Linked DNA regions of Homo sapiens: region 1 is linked to region 2. The links are contacts of gene promoters, found by promoter capture Hi-C in human tissues and cell types (Jung and others, 2019). All regions are on one chromosome and are shown on one strand. The core of a region is centred on a gene start or on the middle of the fragment in contact, and the rest is flanking DNA. Distances in the headings are between cores, read along the strand shown. Region 1 overlaps CLCN1 (chloride voltage-gated channel 1). Region 2 holds the start of TAS2R60 (taste 2 receptor member 60).

Region 1 (5,821 bases), core at 308-2,807, 110 kb after region 2:
GGTTCCTCTAGATGGCTAGACCAAATCCCTTCTACTTTGAGTGCCTGTATTTGCCTTTCAGCAATCTAGAACAAGGAATGGAGCCCCGGAGTACTTATCTTTCTCTGCCCCAAAAGAGCCCCAGCCCATTGTACCCATTTAGTCCAGAAAGTTTGCCTCAGCAAAGTAGCCTGAAACTCTTGAAGACTTTTCCTACTCAGGTTATATTTCTGAAAAGGCGCTCCGGTTTTTTTTTTTTCTTTTTTTTTTTTTTTGAGACAGGGTCTCTCTCTGCCACCCAGCACCCAAGCTGGAGTGCAGTACCATGATCTTGGCTCACTGCAACCTCCGCCTCTGAAGTCCAAGCTATTTTCCTGTCTCAGCCTCCTGAGTAGCTGGGACTATAGGCGCACGCCACCATGCCCAGCTAATTTTTTGTATTTTTAGTAGAGACGGGGTTTTGCCATGTTGCCCCGGCTGGTCTTGAACTCCTGACCTCAGGCAATCTGCCTGCCTCTACCTCCCAAAGTGCCGGGATTACAGGTGTGAGCCGATGCGCCCGGCCAAGGAGCTCCAGTTCTAAGTGTCAGACATTTAAAGTCTGAGTGACTTATTGTGTGATTAATTGAGCTTCAATGGGGTCATAGAACCATCTATATGGTGAAACTCACAGTAGAACCTGGAGAGAAGACTTACCTGCCTGAGCCACTTGCTTTAATGATCAGATCACCTTAAACAAGGATCAAAATTTAGATCTGTCCTGGCTAGCTACTGGAAGGGTAAATTGAGAAAGCCTGATAAGTCAGCCAATGTGATAGAAAAAAAATCTCTAAGGCCAATTTTGTAAGCTAGAACTCCAATAGAAATTGAGACCATTTTACAAAAAGCAATATGTGCATTTTGAGGCAAAGAGTACAAAAGAATTGTCCGGGTGCAGAGGCTCACGCCTGTAATCCCAGCACTTTGGAAGGCAGAGGTGGGCAGATCACGAGGTCAGGAGATCAAGACCATTCTGGCTAACATGGTGAAACCCTGTCTCCACTAAAAAATAAAAAAATAAAAAATAAAAAATAAATTAGCCAGGCATGGTGGTGGGCACCTGTAGTCCCAGCTACTTGGGAGGCTGAGGCAGGAGAATGGCGTGAACCCGGGAGTTGGAGCTTGCAGTGAGCTGAGATCATGCCACTGCCCTCCAGCCTGGGCGACAGAGCGAGACTCTGTCGCAAAAAAAAAAAAAAAAAAAAAAAAAAAAAAAAAAAAAGAATTGAGAAATAGAATGGAAAAAAGGCTAGTTGTGGAACTTTTTAAATATCTGTAAAAGAAATAGAAGTATGAGATGTCATATGTAAGCAAAGCAACAGGTTTATATATCCCTTCCAAAATAAGTAAACCAATTTCAGAAATGGATCTCAAACTTATTAGGTGTAAGAAGGTAGCAGCTAAAGCTCAGGACAAACTGCCAAGATGAAAGTATTCACAATTTTAGAGCTGTGCGCAATTGCACTGTAAGCTAACGAGAAATATATTTCTTAATTTTCAGAACCGTAGAAAGAAAGAACTCCCCTCATCCAGGGCTGACCTCAGGAGACAGTGACAAAGACTCTAAGAAAGTCTCATCCCAGAAGATCTGAGATGAGGCAAAACACACACTCCTTCATGTCAGAATATGACTATTCAAAAACAGTTGAGAACTATAAAAATGAATGGGCAAAATGAAGAGAATAGAGACTGAGAATCCCCTGAGGACAGAGAGTGCATCTTGTCCTTTCTGCCTTCTCTCTGCACTGGCACAGTGCTCAGTAAATGTAGGAAGGGTGTAGCTAGGTGAGTAGGTAGAAAGGAAGGAAGGAAAGAACGAAGATGGGCTGAACAAATAGTATTCATGCAAAGGAGGAAAAGCTTCTCAGAGCTAATATTTGCTAAAACACTAAAGAGTAATGCTCATCCAGGGGAACTTGCTTTAAAATGCAGATGACCAGACCCCACTGGAAGCTACCACATCAGATTGTCTGCAGATAGGGCTATAGGCACTTGTAATTTAAGCTTCTTAAGTGATTCTGACATTTAACAGTTGGACTGAACTATCCTGTACCATCTCTTTGAAATAAGTACATAAAAGCCATAAGAGATTTTGTAGGCTCAGGTTAATCTGAAAGCTCTAGCAATTCATATAACAGGTAACCAATAGGTCTGATTTCAGAAGATGTATTTTAGATTATCCTCCAAGATATGTGTAAGAACAGTATTACAATCAGAAGACATTGAAGTTATCAACTCCTATAGCACAAAGGTTGACACATGAGATTAACAAACTTTTTTAGCTATTGGCACGTGAAAGAAAAGATCCAGAAGTAATGTGAAACACAAATAACTCCCAAGACTTTCTTCTTTCTCTTTCTTTCTTTCTTTCCCTTCCTTCCTTCCTTTTTTTTTCTTCTTCTTCTTTTTTTTTTTTTTTTTTTTTGACAGAGTCTTGTTCTGTCACCCAGGCTGGAGTGCAATGGTGTGTCAGCTCACTGCCACCTCTGGCTCCCGCGTTCAAGCAATTCTCCTGCCTCAGCCTCCCGAGGAGCTGGGATTACAGGCGCCTGCCACCACGCCCAGGTAATTTTTGTATTTTTAGTTGAGACAGGGTTTTGCCATGTTGGCCAGGCTGGTCTCAAACTCTTGACCTCAGGTGATCCGCCTGCTTTGGCCTCCCAAAGTGCTGGGATTACACCCAGCTTTTTTTTTTTTTTCTTCAGATCTAGACCTACAGAACTACCACGATTTTAAACACTCAATTTCAGGGAACTGGAAAACTGGAAACCCATTATGGGTTTCCACCATATTTAGACCCTTCATTAGAAGGAGTAAAATGAAGAATTCACTTCGGGAGAATGAAGTGAAAGGAGTGAAAAAAAATTCAACAGAGCCTCAGGCTGTGCAGAGAACTTAGTGATACTAGGTAACAATGTTAGACTTATTAAAAGCAAACTGAGAATTTGGAATGGTATTCATACTCATTGTAAAAGCTCTTCTCTTGATGTATAATGTAATGACACTTTCCACGTCATGAGATTAAGGAAGATGGAAGTTCTCTTCATTAATATTATAAAACAGCTGAATTGGCCAGGTGCGGTGGCTCACGCCTGTAATCCCAGCACTTTGGGAGGCTGAGGCGGGCAGATCATGAGGCAAGGAGATCGAGACCATCCTGGCTAACAAGGTGAAACACCGTCTCTACTAAAAATACAAAAAAATTAGCTGGGCGTGGTGGCGGGCACCTGTAGTCCCAGCTACAGGTAAGGCTGAGGCAGGAGAATGGCGTGAACCTGGGAGCCGGAGCTTGCAGTGAGCCGAGATTGTGCCACTGCACTCCAGCCTGGGCTACAGAGTGAGATTCCGAATCAAAAAAAAAAAAAAAACAAAACAGCTGAATTGAGAATCTTACCTGCCTGTACAGATGCTGCTAGAAGACCACATAGACTACATTTCAAATTAGGCACTGGAAAAATTGTTTCAGTCATGTTTATATTTTAGTTTAGCTATGTATCCTACCTAGCTAAAAAATAAGAGTATGGTTATTGTGTCCAATGATTAGACAGTGAAAATGCTGGGAAGTGGTGATAACCAGGGAATATCATAGATTTGTAGCAGTGAATGGTTTTATGTTCGTAAATATTATAGGATATTATAGGCCTGCTGCAAACTGTTAGGCTTGAAATATAGCCCAGGAAGTATATGTTTCTTTTCCTGATACAGTATGATGTAACATTATCAAGGATATAATCTAGTGAGAAATTAATAATTGTGGCATACAGGTGAGTCCTCTATATCATCTAAGTAGGTTTCTCAAAATAAGCTTGAATTTGCGAAGTGGAATCCAGACATATACTTGGGAATCTGGAGAGCTGGGATGAGGTTTGGCAGAAATGTTGAAAAATATACAGTATTTCGTTTCTACAGGACTTTTCAAAATCTTGATATTTTAAAGGTACATACGATGCCAATGTTGCCGTATAGCTCAGTCTAGAGGAATCTCAGAAAAATACAGTTATCATCATTGGACTACCGTCCAATTCTGAGATCCACCAAAATTTGTACTTGGTTACTGTAGATGGGTTTGTGTACTCAACAACTAATTATAGGAGGTTGGGATTTATAAATTAGAGAAGATGAACTCTATAATGAAAGTCTAAAAATCAAATCCCTAACAAGACACTGAAAACTTCTTTCATGATAAAAATGTAAAATCTTTTGAAGAAAGACATTTTAAAGGGATTAAATTAATAAAGTGAATGTGCAAAATATGAATGCTGTAGATTCAACTAAACCACCTAAAGTGGAATGGGGAAGATCATTTGCAAATACAGTTTCTAGACACCCTGGGAATATGTTACAGAGTTGAAATCTGGTGTTTCACGTATCTGCTGTCTCTAGTCTTAACATCACTAAAAAATTAAATTAAATAAACAGCAAAAAATAGAACGTTTTAAAATATTTAAAAATTTTTTTTCTGTTGCAAGCATAAGATATAGCTAAAGGTTAATGATGAAATATTATGTACTTGGCACATAGTAAATGCTTAATAACATTTATTGAACAAATGAACTCATGAACCCACTGTAGCTATTGCAATATAAATATAACTTGGTGACTCATATCCTGGGAAAACATAGATTTATAAAAGGTATCATAAATAAGTTAATAGCAAGGTATTCAAAAGCTTGAAAGTTCAGTATGAACAGACTTATAAATGAGAACTCTAATATACAGAGGAAAGTGTTGTGTTATTTAGGCAAGACATACTATTAGTAAAAAAGATAATCATCACAAAAGAAAAAAAAGGGCAATCAATAATTTTTTTTTTTTTCTTGAGGAGTGTTGCCCTTGTCGCCCAGGCTGGAGTGCAATGGCACAATCTTGGCTCACTGCAACCTCCGCCTCCTAGGTTCAAGCAATTCTCCTGCCTCAGCCTCCCAAGTAACTGGGATTACAGGCATGTGCCACCACACCTGGTTAATTTTGTGTTTTTAGTAGAGACAGGGTTTCACCATGTTGGTCAGGCTAGTCTCCAACTCCTGACCTCAGATGACCCACCTCTCTCGGCTTCCCAAAGTGCTGGGAATATAGGCATCAGCCACTGCACCTGGCCAGCAATCAGCAATTGTAATAGATGTCACAACCAGGGGTAGAAATAAAAATATCTTATTACAAGGCAGTAATTGAGAAGTCTATAAATACATAATCCTTGATGGGCAGATATGAAAAAGAAGTGATGTGAAAGAGATCATCTTTTATTGCCTAGTTGAAGCTAGAAGAATATGGTTTGGGAATGGCAAAATCCTCACAGCTTCATCACCTAAATAGAGAATAATAACATGTATAAAAATTATGTGTAGTCACTAATACAATTAATTTAAATATTTTATCCCTTTTGAAGATCTAAAAAAGAGATTATCTACAAAACCGGGGGAAAAAAGATGCTCAAATCACCTAAAAAATGGATCATCAGATACATGGAGAATGAAATACTTAATTATCTACTAAGTGGGGGAATTTGGTTAATTAATCCAAGGCTTTTACAGTTATTTATAATGCTTAACTCTATCTTGTACTTTTTTACTTGGCTACTGTGACAGCTTAGTAATTTAACAAGAAGAACAATTAGAAGGGTTAGATAACTATGCCAGACAACACTAAGTTGACGTGAATACAGCAATTAACTCAGATACTAGTTTACTTCTATAGCAACTTACAACTCTATAATTTTTTTTTTTTTTTTTGAGACAGAATCACACTCTGTCACCCAGGCTGGAGTGCAATGGCACGATCTTGGCTCACTACAACCTCCACTTCC
Region 2 (6,631 bases), core at 3,882-6,381:
AGCTGGGAGACAGAGCAAGACCCTGTCTCAAAAACATTTAAAAATAAGTAAATAAAATTTTTAAAAAAGAATGTCTATCTGGAATTTATGATTAAATGTTAGCTCTAAATTTATGGTTTTCCAATTGGAGTACCAGTATACCACAACACTAAATGGCCATCTTTTCCTCACTGATTTAAAATGCTTTAGTTATCATATATGTAATTTTTCATGTAACTATTGTCTGGGCTGTCTGTTGATGTGTTTGTCTATTCATTTCTTTTATTATATTCTATTACCTTATTGTCTACATCAGTACCACACGGTTTTAAATACTACAGCACTAAAGTATCCCAAATTCTACCACTCACTGACCATGAGACCTCAGTAAACCTCTCTAAGTCTCATTTTTTTTACATTGTTGTTTTAAGAAACAATACATAAAAGACTAAGTAAATTAGTGCTCTAGTCCTGTTCCTCACACAAAATAGACGTTCAATAAGTAATTGTTATTATAATTCACAATTATATAATGAAGGTAGTAATGAATTATGTTATAATTCATAATTATATAATGAAGGTAATAATGAGTTATATTATAATTCATAATTTTTATTACAACTCATAATTGACGATGAGATTAGACTATGGACAAAAATTTATGATAATAAGTTACCAAATATTTTAAAAATACAACTACCCTTGCTTCTCTTTTACTTCTCCCTGTGTGTTCAAGCTCCAAGGGAACTTGTCCCTGTGGGGAGATCATTCAGATTCTGGAATATGCTCTGTTCTCCTAGGCTAATGGTGTGAACGGTGGAAGGAACAAAGAGTAGCTTATGTAGGACGCTATGGAAAGGGAGATCGGGTCAGTAACAAAGAGGAGAGCTGGCACTCCACTAAGTTTCCCATAGGAAGGACTGAAAGCCTGCTGTTCAGTTGCTTAGCAACAGGCAAATGTACAAGAAAGAAGTCAAAGACATCATAAAATCAGGCAAATTTTACTCTCTCACTCACCCATTTATTATTTCTACATTGTGCATAAGTCAAAGTGTGACTTCCAAAAGATAAGCCAGCCAGACAGTAAAGGGAAAGCTCAAACATAGGCATAAAAATGTAGTAGGTACCCCAGAGATAAATGTACAGATAAAAGTACATGTGATTCTAGCTGGATTCCAGCTTATAGAACCATTCTGCTCAGCGCAAGTACTTGTTAAGTGCTTCAGAGGATGCATGGAAGAGTATGAGGCAGCCCATGCCGTTAAGAAGTTTAAGATCTTCTAGGGTGGAAGAGACAACTATGCAAACAACAGCGTCAAAGGCAGGACTAATGTCACAACTGAGGAAGAGATTTAAGACTTGGGGGGCATCCAGAAAAGCTTCACTGAAGAGACACCATTTGAATTAATAAAAGTTAAACAGAAAAAAAATGTTAAGTAGGGTTTTTGACAGGTACATGGGGGAATAGGGAGTGCTTCTCAGGATATCAGGGAGGAAGTTTTAGGCATGCCCAGAACAATAATCCAAATTTGCTGCAAAATAGGATCTACTAGAATGGCAGTGAAAGATAAAGTTGTTGCCAGACTGTGGAGGTTCTTGAATGCCACATTTAGGGGGCCTGTGCTTCATTTAATAGGCACTGAGAGGCTGGGTGTGGTGGCTCATGCCCGTAATCCCAGCACTTTGAGAGGCTGAGGCAGGCAGGTCACTTGAGGTCAGGAGTTCAAGCCCAGCCTGACCAACATGGCAAAACCCTGTCTCTACTAAAAATACAAAAATTAGTTGGACATGGTGGTATGCACCGTAATTCCAGCTATTCAGGAGGCTGAGGCAAGAGAATCACTTGAACCCGGGAGGTGGAGCTTGCAGTGAACCAAAATCAGGTTGCAGTGAGCCAAGATCACGCCACTGCACTCCAGCTTGGGTGACAGAGCAAGACTCTGTCTTAAAAAAAAAAAAAAAAAGGCACTGAGAGATGATTCGGGTGATATACCTTCAGGAGATTAATCTGGAAATGATAGTTCTGACTGCGGTGGTAGTGAACCATGAAATGAAGCAAGTAGTGAAGAAGAAATCTCAGCAGTGCAGGTGGGAGAGGAAGATAGTCTAATCTCAACAAGGATCAGGAATGGGAAGAAGGAGACAGATGATGGGGACATCACAGGGGTAAAATTTGAAAATGGTTACCTATTAGGTACAAGGGCTCAGTAGAGAGAAGGGGGTGAAAATTAACTCAGAAGTTGATAGCCTGATTTATTGAATAGCTGTAATAGATGAATGGATTCATCTGAGCAGGGGACGGGCTGGTGGGAAGAGGAGGGAGGGAAAAGTAGAGGAGGAGGAGGAGGAAATAAAGAAGAAGGAAATACTTTGAACTTGCTAAATTTGCTCATGGTACTATCAGGTGGTAATGTCCAATTAGTGGAAGAAAATATAGGATTGGAGTTTAGAGAAAGGTCAAGGCTTTGGTAATTATCAACATGAAGGGCATAATTGAAGCTATGTGAGTAGATTTAAACACAAAGGAAAGAGATCAGATATCATCTCAAAGGAAGAAGAGGGCTGGCTAAGGACAGAACCAAGAGGCAGGAGGATGAGTGGTTAGTGAAGGGGACACAAAAAGAAGCGATGGGAACTGGAAGAAGATCCTAGCATCCGTCGCCAAGAGAACAACTTTTAGAAAGATGCGCAGATGGGCAATTATGGGTGAGGTTTAGTTTCCCTTTTAAAAAAATCTTTCACCAAGATCAGCAGTACTTTTGTAAAAATATTTTTCATCAGTTTATTTTAAGGAAATCATTTGTTATCAACAGAGGCAAATACAACAGAGACATGGGAGGATAAGGGCTGGGGACAATATCACATTTAGTGACAAAGAGATCGTGTGTGTCCCTGTAGAAACAAACATGTTTCAGCAGAACAGGGAAGCAGGAGAGGATTGGAAGGCACACGGGAAGACCCTGCAAGTGACTCATTGGCAGCACAGGGGTACAGGGAGGGGGAGGAGCGAGACAGATAAGGGGATTGTTTTCAGGAAAAAAGTTTAGAGGCACATTTGTTGAAGAAGGGAAGGACAATAAAGAGGGAAAGTTGGAAGATTTGTGTAGAAGTAGAAATCCTTGACCTAGCAGCAGAGAGAAAACAGGCAGGAGCAGGGCTAGGATCACAGATGTCAGCCTTGAAAAGCCAAAAACAGAGACCAGTCCTCTAATGTAGAGTGTGGTGGAGGTAAAAACCAGGAAAGGAGGCGGAGAGATTTTAAAGTGAATGGAGGAAACTTGAGGGTTGTCTCGTTTGAATGATTCAGGGAGTAACTGAACTTAAAGAACGTTTGAGAGGAGCTGGGAAAAGCAGAAAGGCAGTCTGAACATGGTTCACCAAACACAAAGGCTTTTTCTTCTTAAATCTTAGGTCTTAGACAGATACAGATAAACTTCCCCATGTCAGTAGGGGAATTACAATAGGTCCCAATATCAATCAAAAGAAGTTACATCTGAACCCACAGACCTTAACAAATACAGAGGAGACTAACAGGCTGGGCTATTATAGAGAACATGAACCACATACAAATCATAGACCCCTGGCACTCAGAGGGATCTCCAAAGGTCATCGGAGAATACACACATCCCTGGCAACACACACTGCCACACACATGCACCAATTACACTATGCTCTGTGTAGAAGGTTTAGACACCAGAAACTCTTCCATGGAAAGAAGGAGAGAGGCACCACATTAGATGGCCAGAAAACTTTGAATTGATGAGAAGGGAAAGGTGGTTCACAGGACAAAGCCTGAGAAAACTGCAGTTCCAAAAACATGCCCCAGTTCGATTGAACAGATAAAATATTGCATGAAGTTTGAGGATCTTTGCATCCAGTTCCCAGAATGATTATTTTAAATACGAAGAGATCGATCACAGGAAAAATAAAGGCTTCTGGATTCTTTGACCACATCAGGTCCCACAGGAACCATGGCCACATGAACTATGCACTTGGTGAGTACATAACATGACACTAGCCCATATTTCAGGACCTTTACTCTCACCTTGTATCCTATTTCATTGAAGTTATTTTTCTAATCATTAACTGTAGCAACAGAGAGAAAACATTCAATGTGGCAAAGAGAGAAGCTATGTCCCTTTGAGTCCATGCCTTCTCCACAAGAATCTCCTTGAAGTTTTTCATCAGCTGTGGCTCAAGGTGTCCCACACCTTGAGGAACGACGACTCTTCAGCACAGCTCTCAGCCTGCAGTTGCTGAAGAGCAGAATGATGGGGTGAACTGCTGCACACAGATAAATCACTGACTCCCACACCCAGAATTTAAAGTCCAGAGGTGGAAAAATACCTGCAGCACTGAACACCAGTGACAGGAAATATGAGATGAAGAGCATGGCAAAAGAGAGGAGAGCCAGCAGAGCCTTTATGTGTGCCTGCACACTGGGCTCTCGGAATCCTGAGGTTGTAAGGAGAGCCTTCTTCCTGTGTCTTCCCAGAGATGTGATGAGCAAAATCATGCAAATGAAAAAGACAGCAGTGGGCATTGTCCAAGTAATCATTTTTAGAGGGAAGAGATAGAATTTCTCACAGTAGCTCCGTATGCTATCGCCAGTGACATTCCAAGGTTGTAGATGGTTCCTTAAATAGTTCTGATACATTCTGTGGTTGCCTATGAAAAATAGAATGGTGGTGAAGCTGGAGAGCCCTACAGAGCTGAAGAGCATCCATGGTAGCCACCCAGACAACTTGTGCTTTAGCCAGAAGAAGACAGGGTGGGTGAAGGTAGCAATTTTCACACAATAGAAGACACTGAGCCAGGTAGAGGACCATAAGGTGGCAGCATTCAGGAAGTCCCACTGGAAAGCTAGAAACTGCAGTACAGGGTTGTATGGGAAGGCCATCGGATGCAAGAAAACATAAATGGTCTTACCCATTACCACTGACTGCAGACAGAAGCGAGAGGCCCCTAGGCTAACCAATAACTTATCACAAGGCAACAACATTCTCCGTAGCACCCACTCCACGCCCAGAGCAGCAGTGATGAAGCCATTGCCTGCTATTGCTACCAGGCGTAAAAGGAGTAAAATGGTAACCAAGATGATGGCCTTCTTGTCAGTCACCGAAGATCCTAGAACCATGTGGTCTCCATTCATCTCTCTGGTGGACAAGATGGGTCCCAAAACTTCAAGGGCTATCTCTGTTGGGTTGCTCTGGAAGGTCCTGTAGGATATGTTTGTCCCTCCAGCTGCCCCAAGCGCAGAAGCTAGGCCAGAGTAGAGGACGCAGGCTATCAGAGGAGGGTGAGAGGTTTTTTCTTCTCAGAGTAGATGCAAATATTGTCAAGGCTCAATTTTCAAAGTCCCCATACCTGCCCAAAAATTTGCCTGCTCTTCTGCCTATTCTCTGCCCATGTCAACATCAAAGTGGATAATATATCAGGCCCTGGCATTTAGTGTCCTTACACAGGAGGTTATACTTCTCTAAGCGGACACCTATGACAGGACCATGCACCTGCCAGCTCAGTAGTATCATCCGTGGGGCACACCCGCTACTGAGACAGCGCTCACATCCACGGGGGGGGGGTGATTGTTATGTTGCAGGCATTGTTCTGAGTGCTCTCCTTAGTTCTCACAACAACTCTATGCGGGGAGTAGTATGGCAAGACCCCTTTAACTGAGACAGAGAGAAAACTGAGCAAACCTTTACAGAGAAGGATTAATTCAAGTCTTATTACTCACAGTGACCATCATCATAAAAAAAGAACACTGGAGACAATTATACATAATGAGGCAGGCAACTTTTTTCAAAATTTAAAAATATATATTTGATAACTGGTGGCCTCTAAAATAGCACTTCACAGAGGAACCCCCAGTAGCGATAAGCCAATGGGATATGGCAGAATGAGCCCTGTGCTAGGAGTCGAGACAGCCTTTAGTCCAAACTTTACCCCTTACTGTGAGTTGCTGGATATGTCAGCCCCTCTGCGCCTCATTTTGTCCATCTGTAAAATATGAAAAGTATCCTATGTTCTAATTCACAAAGATGTCTTAGAATCTCGGCTTAGAATGAAAGAAGACATGAAAGATAATCTTACAGATAAAAGAAATAAGACCCCAAATTATATATTACAACTCCCACCTAAAGTCACAGTTACACAGAGGAAAGACCAAGATCCAAACTGATTCCAGGACCAGGAATCTCTGCCATGGTTAGCAATACATGTTACACCTCCATCTTCTTCATCCCTAGCTGAACTCAGAAGCCCAAGTTTTGAGTCTTGTCACAATCACTACGGATCCTCAAGCAGTTAACCTCTCTGAACACCCCCCTTTCTTCACCTATAAAAAATATGGGTCACAAATAAATATGACCATAAATATGGTAAATATATTGGAAATTATAAACCTCTGCATATGGACAAGGAGCAATGATGATGATGACAATTACTTTATTAGAATGGCTATCTTCTATTCCATCCATCCTGTGGCATAATAAGTAGCATAAGGAGAATTCAGGAGAGCATCAGGGATGCAACAGAAGTTCAGGGCACCAAATGTCAGACCACTGATATCAACCAGAGAAGGACAGAGTAAAAAAAAGACCACATTCTTTATAGAAATCAGCTTCAAAGAGTCAAAAAAATCAGCAATCAA

The links. Contacts are between HindIII fragments. The study calls those that stand out against the background at their distance.
Region 1: a contact is called between a fragment that was not itself captured here and the fragment with the promoter of TAS2R60 in region 2, in 2 of the 25 tissues and cell types used here (adrenal gland and ovary).

The regions. Positions count from the first base shown.
Region 1 is chr7:143,333,227-143,339,047 of GRCh38, reverse strand. All of the region lies in intron 12 of CLCN1 (chloride voltage-gated channel 1), which reads right to left. Among named protein-coding and RNA genes, the nearest start is that of CLCN1, 20 kb to the right of the region's middle. The HindIII fragment of the contact is 5,397 bases long and covers 1-4,255 here.
Region 2 is chr7:143,441,953-143,448,583 of GRCh38, reverse strand. It overlaps TAS2R60 (taste 2 receptor member 60), which reads right to left and starts at 5,131. Exons shown (of 1, transcript NM_177437.1): 1 at 4,175-5,131. The coding sequence starts at 5,131. The coding sequence ends at 4,175. The region is part of intron 2 of EPHA1-AS1 (EPHA1 antisense RNA 1); the gene reads right to left. The HindIII fragment of the contact is 10,403 bases long and covers 1-6,631 here.